Regions from separate parts of the Homo sapiens genome. Here region 2 is linked to region 1. The links are contacts of gene promoters, found by promoter capture Hi-C in blood cells and fetal thymus (Javierre and others, 2016). All regions are on one chromosome and are shown on one strand. Each heading gives the region's core, a stretch centred on a gene start or on the middle of the fragment in contact. The rest is flanking DNA. Distances are from core to core; before and after follow the strand shown. Region 1 holds the start of MKRN3 (makorin ring finger protein 3). Region 2 has its middle 40 kb from the start of MIR4508.

The links. Contacts are between HindIII fragments. The CHiCAGO score rates a contact against its expected background, and 5 or more counts as called.
Region 2: a fragment that was not itself captured here is called in contact with the fragment with the promoter of MKRN3 in region 1 in 1 of 17 cell types (neutrophils); the score reaches 7.9 in neutrophils.

The regions. Positions count from the first base shown.
Region 1 is chr15:23,561,512-23,568,579 of GRCh38, reverse strand. MKRN3 (makorin ring finger protein 3) reads right to left here and starts at 2,906. Exons shown (of 1, transcript NM_005664.4): 1 at 536-2,906. The coding sequence starts at 2,797. The coding sequence ends at 1,274. It overlaps MIR4508 (microRNA 4508), which reads left to right and starts at 6,449; the gene lies at 6,449-6,518. The HindIII fragment of the contact is 4,614 bases long and covers 1-3,365 here.
Region 2 is chr15:23,518,341-23,525,442 of GRCh38, reverse strand. No RefSeq gene overlaps it. Among named protein-coding and RNA genes, the nearest start is that of MIR4508, 40 kb to the left of the region's middle. The HindIII fragment of the contact is 1,261 bases long and covers 1,406-2,666 here.

The sequences.
Region 1 (7,068 bases), core at 1,657-4,156:
GTCTTATAGCCTTTGACTTTCAGTCTTTAAACTGCTTTCATTTAATCTAATTAAGTTGTATGTAGATTTTCTATATTAGTCTTACACTTAGTTTTTAGTGCTTTCTATATTTTATTATTTTATCTTTCCATTCTTTTATTCTCATTGGTTTTAATATTTTTGTTCTATTTTCCCTTTTATAATCTTGTTACTTTTATGTTGAACTCTTTTGTCAAAAGCCCCTTGTTGGGAAAGTCTAGAGACTTTGTATATCAAATACAAAGCACTGTGCCTCTGAGCCTAGGATTTGCTGTTACAAAGAATTAATGAGAAGGTGGCTAAACTGCATAGGAAAACCATTTCTGTATTTATAGAGTAAGCTATTAATGCCATTGTAAGAATTACCAATATAGTGCTTTGTAAGTCCTCTAAGATCTGCATCTGTCACATTTGGCCAGACCCACTTGAACAGTCCTTTTCATTAGATGCTAATTACTGGCTTCTGTGCGAGGGACAGAAAGATTATTCACACAACTCACATCCACACAACAGCCAATCCTGTTAGGCTTTGACCTTCAGCTTTCAGCTCTGTATTTACTTTATTACATAAACATAAATATTATATTGTGATGTATATTCTTTTATATATTTTTTTCAAATACATAACTCTTATACATATATATTTTTATATATATAATTCTTAAATATATATTTCCAAATATAAATTATTTCATGTCAAGCTAAACAGGATAAAAACATGTAAACATATACACTTGGTTTTGGTCAAGTAAAACACAAAATCACAAGTTCATCACAGTTTAACAAGTGCACTTGAAGGGGAAGGAGGGAAAGAACAAACTGTAAACAAACAGATGAGCAGCTGCAAAGCCCTGCAAGGGTCCATTTGTTAAGGCTATTATAGCACAAAGCTACTAGTTCAATTAAAACTTCTCCTTTCACTCTGCCACATTTACTCTTGAGGGTCTTCAAAATAAGTGTGGAAATTCAGTAAACACTACACTAGAACTGAGTTAATCCTGTTGACAACAGAGATGACAAAAAAAAGCCATAAGCTGACATTAATATTAATTTCACCAAAACAGTAACTTTAAGGACTTATTTTTTAACACAGATAATCACCATAATCCTAGGGGGAAAGATATGCAGAATAGACAAGAAAACAGAAGCACTGCCTCAACAGCCCCTGAAAGCAGTAAGAGTGTCAACACAGGGAAAACAGGCAATAGCAGACGACAGAACCTCAGCAGACTAGACCACATGCCACAGCACGATGCTACAGAATCAAATTGAAATATTCTTCCAGCTCATAATGAAGCAAGTCCCACTGGTCCTCAGAGAAGGGTAACTCATCTCTCAGTGAAAGAAACCGCTTAAACAACAGACTGGCCAGCCGAAGCACGACAAGCTCCTTCTTAATGCTTTTATAGAGCATGTTGCCCTCTCCCATTCGCACAGGCTCCACAAGTTGATGCCAGTATGCGCTGAATGACCCACCACCTGGCCCAGGAGGCTCATCTCCCCAGCCCTCAGGGTATTCATGCTTGTAAAAGCATGTGTCTCCAAATGGGCAGTTACCCCTGCCTTCCGCAAAATACCTGCAGGCCTTGTTGCTCATTGCCTCCTTGTATTGCTGAATAAGTTTCTGCTTCTCTTCCTCCTCCTCCACCCAGAACTCACTGGGAATGACCAATTCAGAGGTGACCCTGCACTGTGGGCAAGACTTGACGATCCTGTTCTCAAACTGTCTGGCACTTCTCCACCTGCGGATACACCTAATACAGAAGGAATGGTTGCAATTGGAAAGAATGCCAAAGCGGCGGTCATTGGGGTTGGCCTTCTCATAGACAACCTCCATGCAGATGCCACACACCTTGTCCATACCACGCTGCACAGCAAACGAGAGTTCCATATCTTTCTCGTGTGCTTCAATGCAGGCCCTCATATGTTCTTCCCTCTGGGCAGCATCCATGGGGTGCAAGGTCTGCAGCCCACACATGTCGCATATGTCTCCATGGAGGTACATACAGCTCTCCCCACGAAAGCAAACTCCCCTGGAAGCATAATAGCAAAACCGCAACCCACTGCCCACAGCCATCTGCTTCCTCTCAGTCTCTGAGCTCTGTAGAGGAGCCTCGGGGGCAGATGCAACCCAGCGGCCCCGGTAGGGCTGCCCTGGAACAAACTCAATGGCATCCGCCCAGCTTTCTACACCTGCTCCTCCAGCAGCTCCACGGTCTGCATTGTCTCTCTCGGCTTCAAAGAAACCCCTTTCAGCAGCCGAGCCAATCACAGGCAAGGAAAGGGAGGATGCAGCCGGGGGGGCTTCCGCCACTTCCTGAGTCGGGGGCTCGATGTGCGCAGCCGTGCTAGGGCCTCCACCTGCAGAGGCCCCAGGCGGCGAAACGCCACCCTCAGTGGCCATCTTCCGACCAGAAAGGTCGTGCGAATAGCGACAGTTCTCCCCCTCCTTGCACTGCCCATGTATATAATACCTGCAGATGATCTGCTTTGTCCAAATGCCGCTGCTTCGGCTTGGCAACGGACTGGGCCAGGCTCCTCCTCCTGAGGCTGGGGCAGGCCTCAGGCCTCCTCTGCGGAGGTGGGCAGGGACTGGAGCTACAGGGAAGGGGGCCCAGCCCCTTGCCGCATGTGGCAGGGCTGAATCTGGAGCAGCAGATTCCCCGGAGGGCTCACAGACGGGAAGGTCCGGCCCAGACACACCCTCCCTTGCTGCCTCAGCACCTGCCTGGGCCCCGGCTGCCTCGTGGGCTTCTGAGGGAGCTGCAGGCTCTTCCATGGCTGCTTTGGCACCCCGAAATGGTGCCAGAACCTCTCCGGTATTTTTTCTTTATGGGCTTGAGGCCCGGAATGGCGGCCGCGCTCGGAGGCTTCTCTGGGGGAAGTGTGCATCTCTTTTTCCTTCCCCCCTGCTTTTGGGTCCCTCTGACTGTGTGTTCCTACCTACTTCCGGGCACAGGCAGCATGGCGGACACTTCCTGTGGGGGCAACGTACGTGCTCTGCCTGGTTTTTACCGCAATTTTCCAATCTGACATATTTTTTCGTTCACACAGGCGGGGACCAACCCAGCCCCTTTTGTCTGCCTTCTGCCTCTGCTTCGCTGTGTTCCGGCAGTCCCTAAGTCCCTTCTCACACGATTTCCTCAGGAGAATGAGGTTTTACTTTAATCTCTTCTGGTTTCGGTCATGCACGCTTCGTTGTATTTTCGTATCTGTCTGCCTTAAAAAAAATATAATCCTATAGATTCTGAAACATTTCATCCATGAATTATATAAATTCTTTTTTTATTCACTCCATCTTATGTCTGTGGTTTTTTTCTTTTAATGCCCGATCGCGGCAGGAAGCTTTTTTCAATTCGTTCGGTTGACAAGGCGCCGTTTCTTTTGGTCTTTGTTTTCTGGGATTTCTGAGGGCTTACACTGGATACGCTTTTCACCAGCAAGGCATTAGCAGAGAGCACTTCTGATCCGAGGCTAAGTTAGCACCTTTCAGATGTCTTTCTTTATTGTGATTACTATGCTCATTTTCCCACTGTGTTAGAAGCGCCAGACTTCAACCAGTCCTGATGCTGGCCTAATAAGACACTGTCCCCTGCATGACCCAGGCTTTTATTTTCTCTACTGGTTTAATTCATGGCAGCCCTTTGTTTCCCTTCCTTTCTTTCAACCCCATCTGTGCTGTGTTGTGGCAGGACAGCCTTTCATAACATATCCTGTGCCATATTATCCACAAAGGAATGGTCTTTAATTTCCATGTATGAGCGTTTTGTCATTTTTGCAGATAAATGTAGTAGATTAATCATTTTTTTGTATTCCTACTTTGCTGAGAGTACGTATCATGACTGCATACTGAATTCTGTTATGTAGTTTTATACATTTTTTGAGACAATTTTGTTTTTCCCTTTATTCTCTTAATGTGATTATTTGCAGCTATGAGTTTCAAATATTTAACTAACCAATTTGTTTCTAATAAGAAGCCCTTCTGTCATGATATATCATTTTATATATTATTGGATTTTTTTTCTATAAGTTTCTTTGAGGAAATTTTGTTGCCTAAATCTGTAAAGTGGAAACATATCTGAATATTTATAATCACCCAAGTCAACAAATTAAATTATAATTAAGTAGGTAAAAGCAATGAAAGCAGAATGAAGCAAATAATAAGGGCAAGAAAAGCAATGAAGAAAAACAAATATTAAATAAGGGAAATAAATTAAGTAAAATCCCTTAAACTGCTTATTGAAGCCAGATAATTTCTGGTGAAATTTATCAAGGAAAAATGAAGAAGGCTCTAATACCCAAGATCAGTAATTTCAAATATGTTATCACTACATTAATAACAGACATTAAAAATCATTAGAGAATATCAGGAACAAAGTTAGGAGATAAAACTTGAAAAGTTACATGAAATAGTCATATTGGTGGAAACATCTATTAGTAAAAATGACAGGAGCAGAAATACATGTGAATATGGATCTGTTAAATTACATCTGTAATTTAGATAATTATCTAAATAAAGGTCTCTAAAACTTTCTCTCTGAAATAAATCTAAAGGCAAAAAAAATCTGTATTTATTATTGCAAGTCCTAGCTAGTGTAATAGCAAAGAAATAAAAGATGTTATAACTGGAAAGAAATTATTGATGGAATGCAACAGAAAATTGAGAATAATTTACAGATAAGCTATTAGATTTAATAGGTACATTTAGCAAGGACACTGGACAGGAGTCCAATATATGAAAATCATTTTTATTTCTCTATCATCAATAACATTTGAAGTAAACATTTAAAATTAATAACATTCATAACAACATTAAAAGTTAGCTAACCTAGGAATTAAACTAATTAAGGTTATACAATAAAATTAAAAACATTTTAGCTTCAGAAGACCTAAATAAATTGTGGGATACTTTATATATAGTCTTTATAGTCGGTCAGTAGAAGGCTCAATGTTTTTAAAAGGTAGTCTTTTCCTAATTTGATAATTATTTGAAAATGGTGCTGATTATTCATCGTGAATGTAGGAAATGTTGGATTTATCTTTCTCCTTTTCATAGTTACCAAGTTTTATATTTTGCATGCAAGCTGTCCCAAAGTCTGCCTCACTTGAACTTTCTGAAACAAACTTTCTCTTTATCAGGATTTGTTTGTCAGCCCCAGTGATTTTTACAAGAAAAAGACTTGCAGCACAGCTCTCAGGCTTCTACGCCAAGCTCTCTACAAATTCACAAACATAAGAATCCTGAATATAAAATTATTACTGGCTTAATTGTGATATTTTCCTAGCACTGCATCTATTATTTGCTTAATTGTGATATTTTCCCAGCACTGTATCTAAATCATATTTGACCCTCTCTTGATGCACCAGCACTGTCCAGAGGAACTTTCTGTGAAGAATTTATATATATGCATGCTGTACAGTATGAAAGCTAGCCCCATGGGGTTCTTGGGCACTTGAAATGAGGCTAGAGTGACGGAGGAAATGAATGTCCATTTTTTAAATTATAAATTTAAATAGCCACATGAGGCTAGTAGTTACTGCATTGGAGTGAAGTTCTATACAATATTTGACCATCTCATCTCCTAACACAAGGGAACTGAGAAGCATATGTTTCCTCACCTGCCCAAGGCTATGCAGCTGGTGCCAGGCAGTGTTTGCTTCCAAATGCCCACCTGTGTGGCTGCCACTGGTGTTCATGTCTTATAGTCTGATAGTGACTTTATCTTTTAGTTTTGTCGTGACAATATTTCATATAAACTGTTATAAGCCAATATTGTATCCCATGATTTTAAATACCATAAAAAATTGAATAACTGGAAATAACTGGGCAGTGCATCTTGAGAAAAATAAACTAGTTCCCATCCTATCCAAATGTCTTCAGAGATCATTTCCTCTGACTGCCATTGTCTATATTCCTGCCATGATATATACATATGTATATTTTTTGAGCATCAATATTGTTTTTACAGTTCTCAGAAAGTAGACATTTAGTCATTTGTCTAGTTATTTGGCTCAGCTGTGCCTTCTTTTCTAACAAAACACTGACAGCCTCAGAGGCTGGGACCTGGTTTCCTTGTGCACACACCAGTCTGCAGGGTAGCATGGGATCCCCTGGCCGGTCAGCATTTGGGGGTCCGAATGGAATGAGTGCAAGGCTGGGCGATGGCAGAGCTGAGGTGAAGTCCGGGCAGTCTAAGAATATCCTAAGAGGAGGGAGCAAGTTCAGAAGTGAACTGCAGGATGGAGAGAAGCTGCAAAGTCCTGCAGTTTTTTACTCCAAACAGCTCAGGCATGCGCTGCCTAGCCCCGTGTGGTTAACATGTCCGTATTTAAAGAACACACAATTAATTGCCTAAAAGCATTATCCTTCTCAGCACTCTCCTATCCTTCAGATCTAACCTTTAGGCACTGCCGGCTGCCGGCGGGGTCCAGGACCCAGCGGGGCTGGGCGCGCGGAGCAGCGCTGGGTGCAGCGCCTGCGCCGGCAGCTGCAAGGGCCGCAGAAATTAAACGCGAGTGTCCAGAATCGGGCATTGTGGGTTTAAATCCTGAATCCACTGGTCACTATCTGAGACTTTCCCCTGTCACAAATTAGTTACCTTCTTTTATCCCATCTGACAACGGGAATAATAACAGCAAGAATTACACCGACTAGTTCACAGGTTTGCTGTATTAATTAATTTATAATAATTCATTAATTCTTATAAAGTGATTGGAACGATGCCTGATCTTTAAGATACCTGTAAGTGTCTCTTCTATTTTAGAACCACCCAAAGAATCCTGTGACTGAAGTCTTTGTGTCAGTCCCTCTATGTGCACAGCAGTCAGATTTCTATAGGGGCCCTAGAAATTACTGGCACATGAGAGGTGGTGAATGAGTATTTATTGCCTTATATTGATAGACAAACTGATTTTTATTTTGAAATTTAAAGAGCCAGTTTTCTCCAACCCTTAGTTCAGAAGTTTAGTTGTAGAATACCTTTGTGGAGGATTTCTTGTGCTTTCATCACTTGTGGTAGCAGTAGGATTCTGGCTGGAACAGCACTCCTT
Region 2 (7,102 bases), core at 787-3,286, 42 kb after region 1:
AGCAAGGCACTTGGTAGAATAGTATTGCTAGCAGTACTGTAGACCAAGACAGTGGTTGAGCACATTATCCCTCTAAAAGGTGGAGAGTTTGAGTAAAAATAAATGTCAAATGGAGAGAAGGAGAAATAATAGCTGAGGGTAAAAGACTAAATAAGTGGATTATGCAATGAGAGAAGCCTAATGTTGTATTAATACCTCAAGAGAGGCTCAGAGCAAGAGAATGATATTATCTCCTAGCACAATTATACCAGATGCCCAGAAGGGTGAAGCAATGTGTTTTCCAAGACCACCCCTGCTTTTGAAACCTGACAAAGTTGAATGGCAGCCTGCAAACCTGAGTGGCATCCCTCTAGGAAACATTCTGGTCACACTGTGTGATGAAATGGACTGACTGTTAATGACTAATTGGGCTTGAAATTGAGTTAATAATTGATCATCCCTATGTGATGATGCATCCAGCAAAAAAAAAAAAAAAATAGAAAAATCCCTAACGTATGGGGCTTGGGGAGCTTCCGGGCTAATGAATAGAAACATTTCCACGTGTCAGGAGAGTGGCACACCCCAATTCCATGAGGCCAGAAGCTCCTGCATTTGGGACCTTTCTAGACCTCACCCTATGTATCTCTTTATGTGGCTATTCATCTGTATCTTTTGAAATGCCCTTTGTAATAAGTTAGCAATAATAAGTAAACTGTTTTCCTAGCTTTTGTGAGTTTGCTAGAGAATTTCGTGGTGTATGGGGAGAGATCCCCACATATCTGATATCAGAAGTTATCTGTGTTGAGGATATAGTAGTAGAAAACAGTTTTGTTTTGTTTTGTTTTGTTTTTGGAGATGGAGTCTTGCTCTGTCGCCCAGGCTGGAGTGCAGTGGTGCGATCTTGGCTCACTGCAAGCTCCACCTCCCGGTTTCACTCCATTCTCCTGCTTCAGCCTCCCAAGTACCTGGTACTACAGGCACCCGCCACAACGCCCGGCTAATTTTTTGTATTTTTAGTAGAGATGGGGTTTCACCGTGTTAGCCAGGGTGGTCTCGATCCCCTGACCTCATGATCCACCCGCCTCGGCCTCCCAAAGGGCTGGGATTACAGTGATGAGCCACCGTGCCCAGGCAGAACACAATTTTTTAAAAAAAGATTGTACAATCCAAATGGAACAAACTTGCTTCTTATGCATTTCCTGTCAATAATGTCAAAATTGATAACTCTTTTTGTAAAAATCTATGAAACTTATTAGAAAGGATAAAGAATAAAAACTACAGTAACCACAGATATAAAAATGTAAATTGTAATATTCATTCATGAAAATGCAATATTCATTCATATTCAACATGAAATTTGCCTAAGTACACTAATAAATGCAATTTCAAACCTAAAGCTAAAATGCAACTTTAACACCTAAAAGCTTATATTCCAAAAGGCCTTGCTTGCTATCTTGCAGTCCCTATGTAGCCTCTCAATCTCTCAATTACTTTTTTGCAACGAATGAAAAATTGGTAGAAGTCTATGGTCTCTAGAAGCTATAGTTGATGCGGGGCTGAAATGCCTTAAGGAGATACTTTGTTTAATCTTGGACAATAAAGGCAGGTGTTTATCTTGCATCATAGTTCAGCCATATTCTGTAGTTCAAGCTATGTGTCTAAAAGGCATCATTCATTTTTGATATTTGACTTCTGACAGCTTTCAAGTTCCATAGCTCACGCTTCCATTTCTACCTCACATATAGACAATATGATAAGAAAATGTGGGTACTCCATCCTTTGGTGCAGGAGCAGGAAATTAAAACCATGCAATGGAATGCTCATCCCAGCCACACTCCTAACTACCTTCAAAACCACAAGTCCATTTTCTTTTTTCATTCTCTTAAGCCATTTTTGGACCTGCTTTGGAGCTGCCTTGCTTTCCCCGGAAATCTTCATTATGTGAGCAGTAAACATATTTATACCCTCTTGAGTTGTGTGTGAGTCTTATCAATTCGGATATCTAAACCCAGTTTTGGGTGAGAGGTTCATCCTGTGTCATCGAGTTAGCTAGGACAGAATATCTATGTTATATAGTGGGGTTTTCATTTGTTTGATTGTTTTTAATCTTCACTCAATTTTGAGGTTCTTGCTAGAGGCTGGTCAGTTCCTCTTCTTAAACAGCTCAGTAAGTCCGTACCCCAACCACTTTCCTTATTAGAATCTCACCCTCTGGGCCATCATGCATCAGCCTTAAGTGCACCGGATTCAGGTACCAGACATCTAGGGACAGCTCCTATACCCTGGGGCCTAAAAGAGTATTCAAATTAGACAATCCATGAGGAGTTCACAAAACCTAGCTAACCCCACCCTATTTGCCATATGTAAGTTTCCCCCTACAGTTCCATGTTGCTATTACCTTACCCTGTCTTCTGATGCAATCCCCTGTTTCACCCTACCTGGCAATCTCCTCTCCTTTGGAGCTGTATATAACAAAAACTTCTACTTCTCTTCTATTTGAGTGTTATTGTGTTGTGTCCTGCCATCAAAATAATTGTTTAATCTTAAAAAGCAGTTGGCATCTCAAACAGGATGGCCATGACCACGGAATCTTGCATGGCTGCAGGGAGGGACTTCACTTGGCTTGTGAATCAATTCCAGTCCACCATAAAAGAGGCTTGGTACAGAACTTCCACCTATGGCAAGCTTGTGCTTTAGCCTTGTTGCTTGTTTCTGTGCTTTCTGGTGTTTGCCACATTGTTCTTTGCCCAAGTTTTCTAGTTGTTACAATATTAATAATGAACTTTACTAATTGGTTAAACTTTGGGGGCTAGATACCGGCTCAGTTGGTGACGCACCCTAGGGCAATCAGAATGACAGGCTGGGTGTGGTGGCTTACGCCTGTAATCCCAGAACTTTGGGAGGCTGAGCTGGGCAGATCACGAGGTCAGGAGATCGAGACCATCCTGGATAACACGGTGAAACCCCACCTCTACAAAAAATACAAAAAATTAGCCGGGCATGGTGGCGGGTGACTGTAGTCCCAGCTACTCGGGAGGCTGAGGCAGGAGAATGGCGTGAACCCAGGAGGCGGAGCTTGCAGTGAGCCCAGATCGCACCTCTCTGCACTCCAGCCTGGGCAACAGAGCAAGACTCTGTCTAAAAAAAAAAATGACAGGCCACTGAAGCCACAGTTTCCAGGGCTGGGCATTCTGGTATGTTTCTGGTCACAGCCTGTGTTTGGCAAAGACCTATTTCAGGGGTCAGTATTTCTTAGTTATTTATATGGATTAAATGTGTCCTCTAAAAAACAATGTGAAGGAAGCTTAATTCTAAATGCAAAAGTTTTGGGAAGTGGGGCTTAATGGGAAGTGTTTAGGTCATAAGGGTTCCACCCTTATGAATGGGTTAATGTGGATTATAAAAGAGCTTGAGGCTATGAGTTTGATCTCTCTCACCATGTGATACCTTTCTTTATGTTATGATTCAGCCAGAAGGCCCTTACCAGATGCCAGCCCCCTGAACTTTCTGGCCTCCAGAACTATGAATCAAACAAATTTCAATTGTTTATAAATCACTCAGTTTGTAGTATTCTGACATAGCAGCACAAAATGGAATAAGACAAAAATTTCATACCAATAAATGGGAGTGTTGATATAACAAACACCTGAAAATGTGGAAGTGGCTTTGGAACTGCATAATGGGCAGAGGCTGAAAGAATTTGGAGAAATAGGCTAGAAAAAGACTGTATCACTGTGAACAGAGCATTAGGGACCCATTCTGTTGAGGGCTCAGAAAAAGAGAACTGCAGGGAAAATCTGGAATTTTTTGTTTTGTTTTTTTTTTTTTTTTGAGACAGAGTCTCACTCTGTCACCCAGGCTGGAGTGCAGTGGTACGATCTGGGCTCACTGCAACCGCTGCCTCCCAGGTTCCAGGGATTCTCCTGCCTCAGCATCCCAAGTAGCTGGATCACAGGCACATGCCACCACAACTGGCGACTTTTTTATTATTAGTGGAGATGGGGTTTCACCACATTGGCCAGGCTGGTCTCAAACTCCTGACCTCAGGTGATCTGCCCACCTTGGCCTCACAAAGTGCTGGGATTACAGGCATGGGCCACTGCGCCCAGCCAAAATCTAGAATTTCTTAGGTATCACTTAAGTGGTAATAATTAGAATGCTGGTCAAAATATAAACAGTAAAAGCTATTCTGACAAAATACTAGATGGAACTGAGGAACAAGGCATTGGAAGCTGGAGTTAAAGGCCATTCTTGTTAAATGGTTGCAAAGAACTTGTCATAATTTTGTTCATGTCCTAGGACTTTCTGGAAGGCAGAACTTTAGAGCAATAGGATTTCTGGCAAGGTAGGACCTTGAGGGCTACATTTTCAAAAAGAGGCATATACAAGATCTCAGAACTGGCTACCCCGGGCTACCTCAAGACTCTGTTCCCCACATTCTGGGGCAGCACTCTTTGGTCACCCCAGCCTTGGCTCAAGTGGGCTCAAGTGCTGCTTAACTTACTGCTTCCGAAAGTAGAAGCAGTAAACTCTGCAGCGTGCACATGGTGCTAATTCTAGAGGTGTGCAGCGTGCACATGGTGCTAATTCTAGAGGTGTGCAGCGTGCACATGGTGCTAATTCTAGAGGTGTGCAGCGTGCACATGGTGCTAATTCTAGAGGTGTGCAGCGTGCACATGGTGCTAATTCTAGAGGTGTGCAGCGTGCACATGGTGCTAATTCTAGAGGTGTGCAGCGTGCAAGAGCTGTGGCTCCCTGGTAGCCTCCAGGTCCTACCTTGCCTCTAAGATTCTTCTGAACTACCTTCAAGTTCATTTTCCAATTGCTTGATGACTAGAACCTGGCTTTCTTTTATCCATATTAATCTCTTTAGAAAATGGTCACTTTGCCACACCATTAGCATTCTCTCCTGAACGTATTTCTTTATTCTTTACATGGCCAAGCTTAGGGTTTTCTACATCTTTCCGTTCTGATTCCATTTGAATTATAAATTCTGTCTTTAAATAATTTCTCCCTTCTCTCATTTTACTCTAAGAGGAAAAAAAAAAAAAACCATGCCACACTTTGCTTGACCAGTAGATTTCAAAGGATGCTATGGAAAATCTAGGGGCAGAAACATGGGGCAAAGCCACCACAGAAAGTCTCCATTAGGGCAATGCCTAGGGTAGCCACAGGGGTTGGGGTGCCACTGAGACCCCAGAACTGTTGAACTACCAGTGTGCCATGCCAACCTGGAAGAGACACAGGAATTGAGACAGAGCAGGGATGGGGTTTGGCTTCAGCTCATCCCCGCTAGAGCATTGTTTCATGCATTCTCACTGATCACAAAACCCATACCACTACCTCATTGATTCCATATCTGCGAATAGTCCTTTTACTTCATTCCAGGAACTGGCCTTAGGAGATCAGAAATACTGAACCAAGGTTGCTGAGTGTCCCACCTTGGGAAGGAATGTTGAACAACTGATTTACAGCCTTGCTGCTGTTGACTAGACCACCTGGTGGCCCATTACTCAAGACAACCATCGCAACCAGATATGCTGACCTGTGTACCCTACTCCTCACGTGCTGTGCCCAACCCAGCCTCCATACCCTACCCCTGATGTCAATTCCCATGCTTTGCCTACTAAAAATTCTATACTGGCTCTTTTTGGAGGGCCAGCTAAAGAATCCTTGCACCTCCACTGTCTCCCTTGCACTGGAATACAAGCCCAGAAATAAAAACCTTGTCTGGGAAATCTGCTTGGCCCCATGTTAATTTCCATTATATGGGTCTGTAACAGATTCTCTGGTGACTGCAGTAGGCCATGGGATGTGGGGAGAATTTTCCTCCCTGGAGAGGGAGGTTCATGAGCCAGTGGGATGCCCAGACATGACCCCTTCACAGCTGAAGAGCGGCTGCCTGGATCTTTGATTCAACGTTGAGGCAACTGGTGAGTTTTTCTCCAGCTTCCTGAAGTCTCCTTTCCAACCTTGCAGACAACACTTTCCCTCCCCTCCTGTCCCCGATTTGTTGTGTCTTTTTCCTTCTTCTTCCAGCTTTCCTTTCTTCTTTGCTTTTCGTTAACTTCATCGGCTTCACCTGAAAAGGTACCTGTGAGGGACGGGCTGAAACAGTCGGTTGGCTCAGTCTTAATAGGCATCGTGCAGGATGGATTGAAACAGCCAATTGGTTCAGTTGATAGGAAACTCTGTCTGGCACCCTGGCTTGAACTTTGTAATCTTCTTAAGTCTTCTAAGTACTTTTCCTCCCTTTGCCACACTTTGTGGAGAAGGGAAGTCTATGGGTTGTTCTGTCATCTGTCTGTTCCAGCCTGTGAGCCTATTGACTCTGTGCTGTCTTTGTGAGGAGAGAACGTGACAGCATGTGGGTTTGAAGTCTGCATCACTGACATCCTGATCTGCTTTTCCTTTTGTGTGTTTAATTTGACACCTTTTTTTCTCCATGCAACCCATTGGACAGCATCTTGCAAAAATGAGAGACTTTGTAACACAGCTTGGCCCCCACAGCTATGGTGCAGTGAGCAGGATCATCAAAAGCCACTCTACTTTTCTGGAAGTTACAGAGAAAGGGAATCTGGAATCCTGGAATGCTGGCAAAACAATAAGAGTTTATTACCAGCCAGGCTTCTGGCCTTTCTCTGTGCAAACCAGTTAGGTGAATGGTAAAAACCATTGTTTGTCTCCTCTGCATGATTTTAATTAATGGTTAAAAAAAAAAAACAAAAAAACGGGGAGGCTATAGCAAATCTGGTGTACTTTGTGCTGTGCAATTGTGTTTCTGTGTTGTTCTGTCTTGGAAAGGGGTACCACAGGATAGAACGTGGGCCTAGGACCTTGTAAGCCTGCTGTTCAAGTTGGCCCAGCCGACTGGTTAGTTACAAACTTTGCTTCAGGTCCCAGAAGCAAAACTGGTAAGGTTTCCCTTCTGTCTTGTTTTATGTCCTTGAGAAATTGACTTTGCAACCATATTGAGGTACTCTTTCTTGGTCTCGGCCATCTGGAGGGTGGGAATTTTCAGGTTTACGTCGGACATCCTGTCTCAAAGAACACATGATAATGTCATGGCTAGCCTTAAGAATTCTCTTGAGCAGTTAACATCTTTTGCAGGCTCAGAAATGAC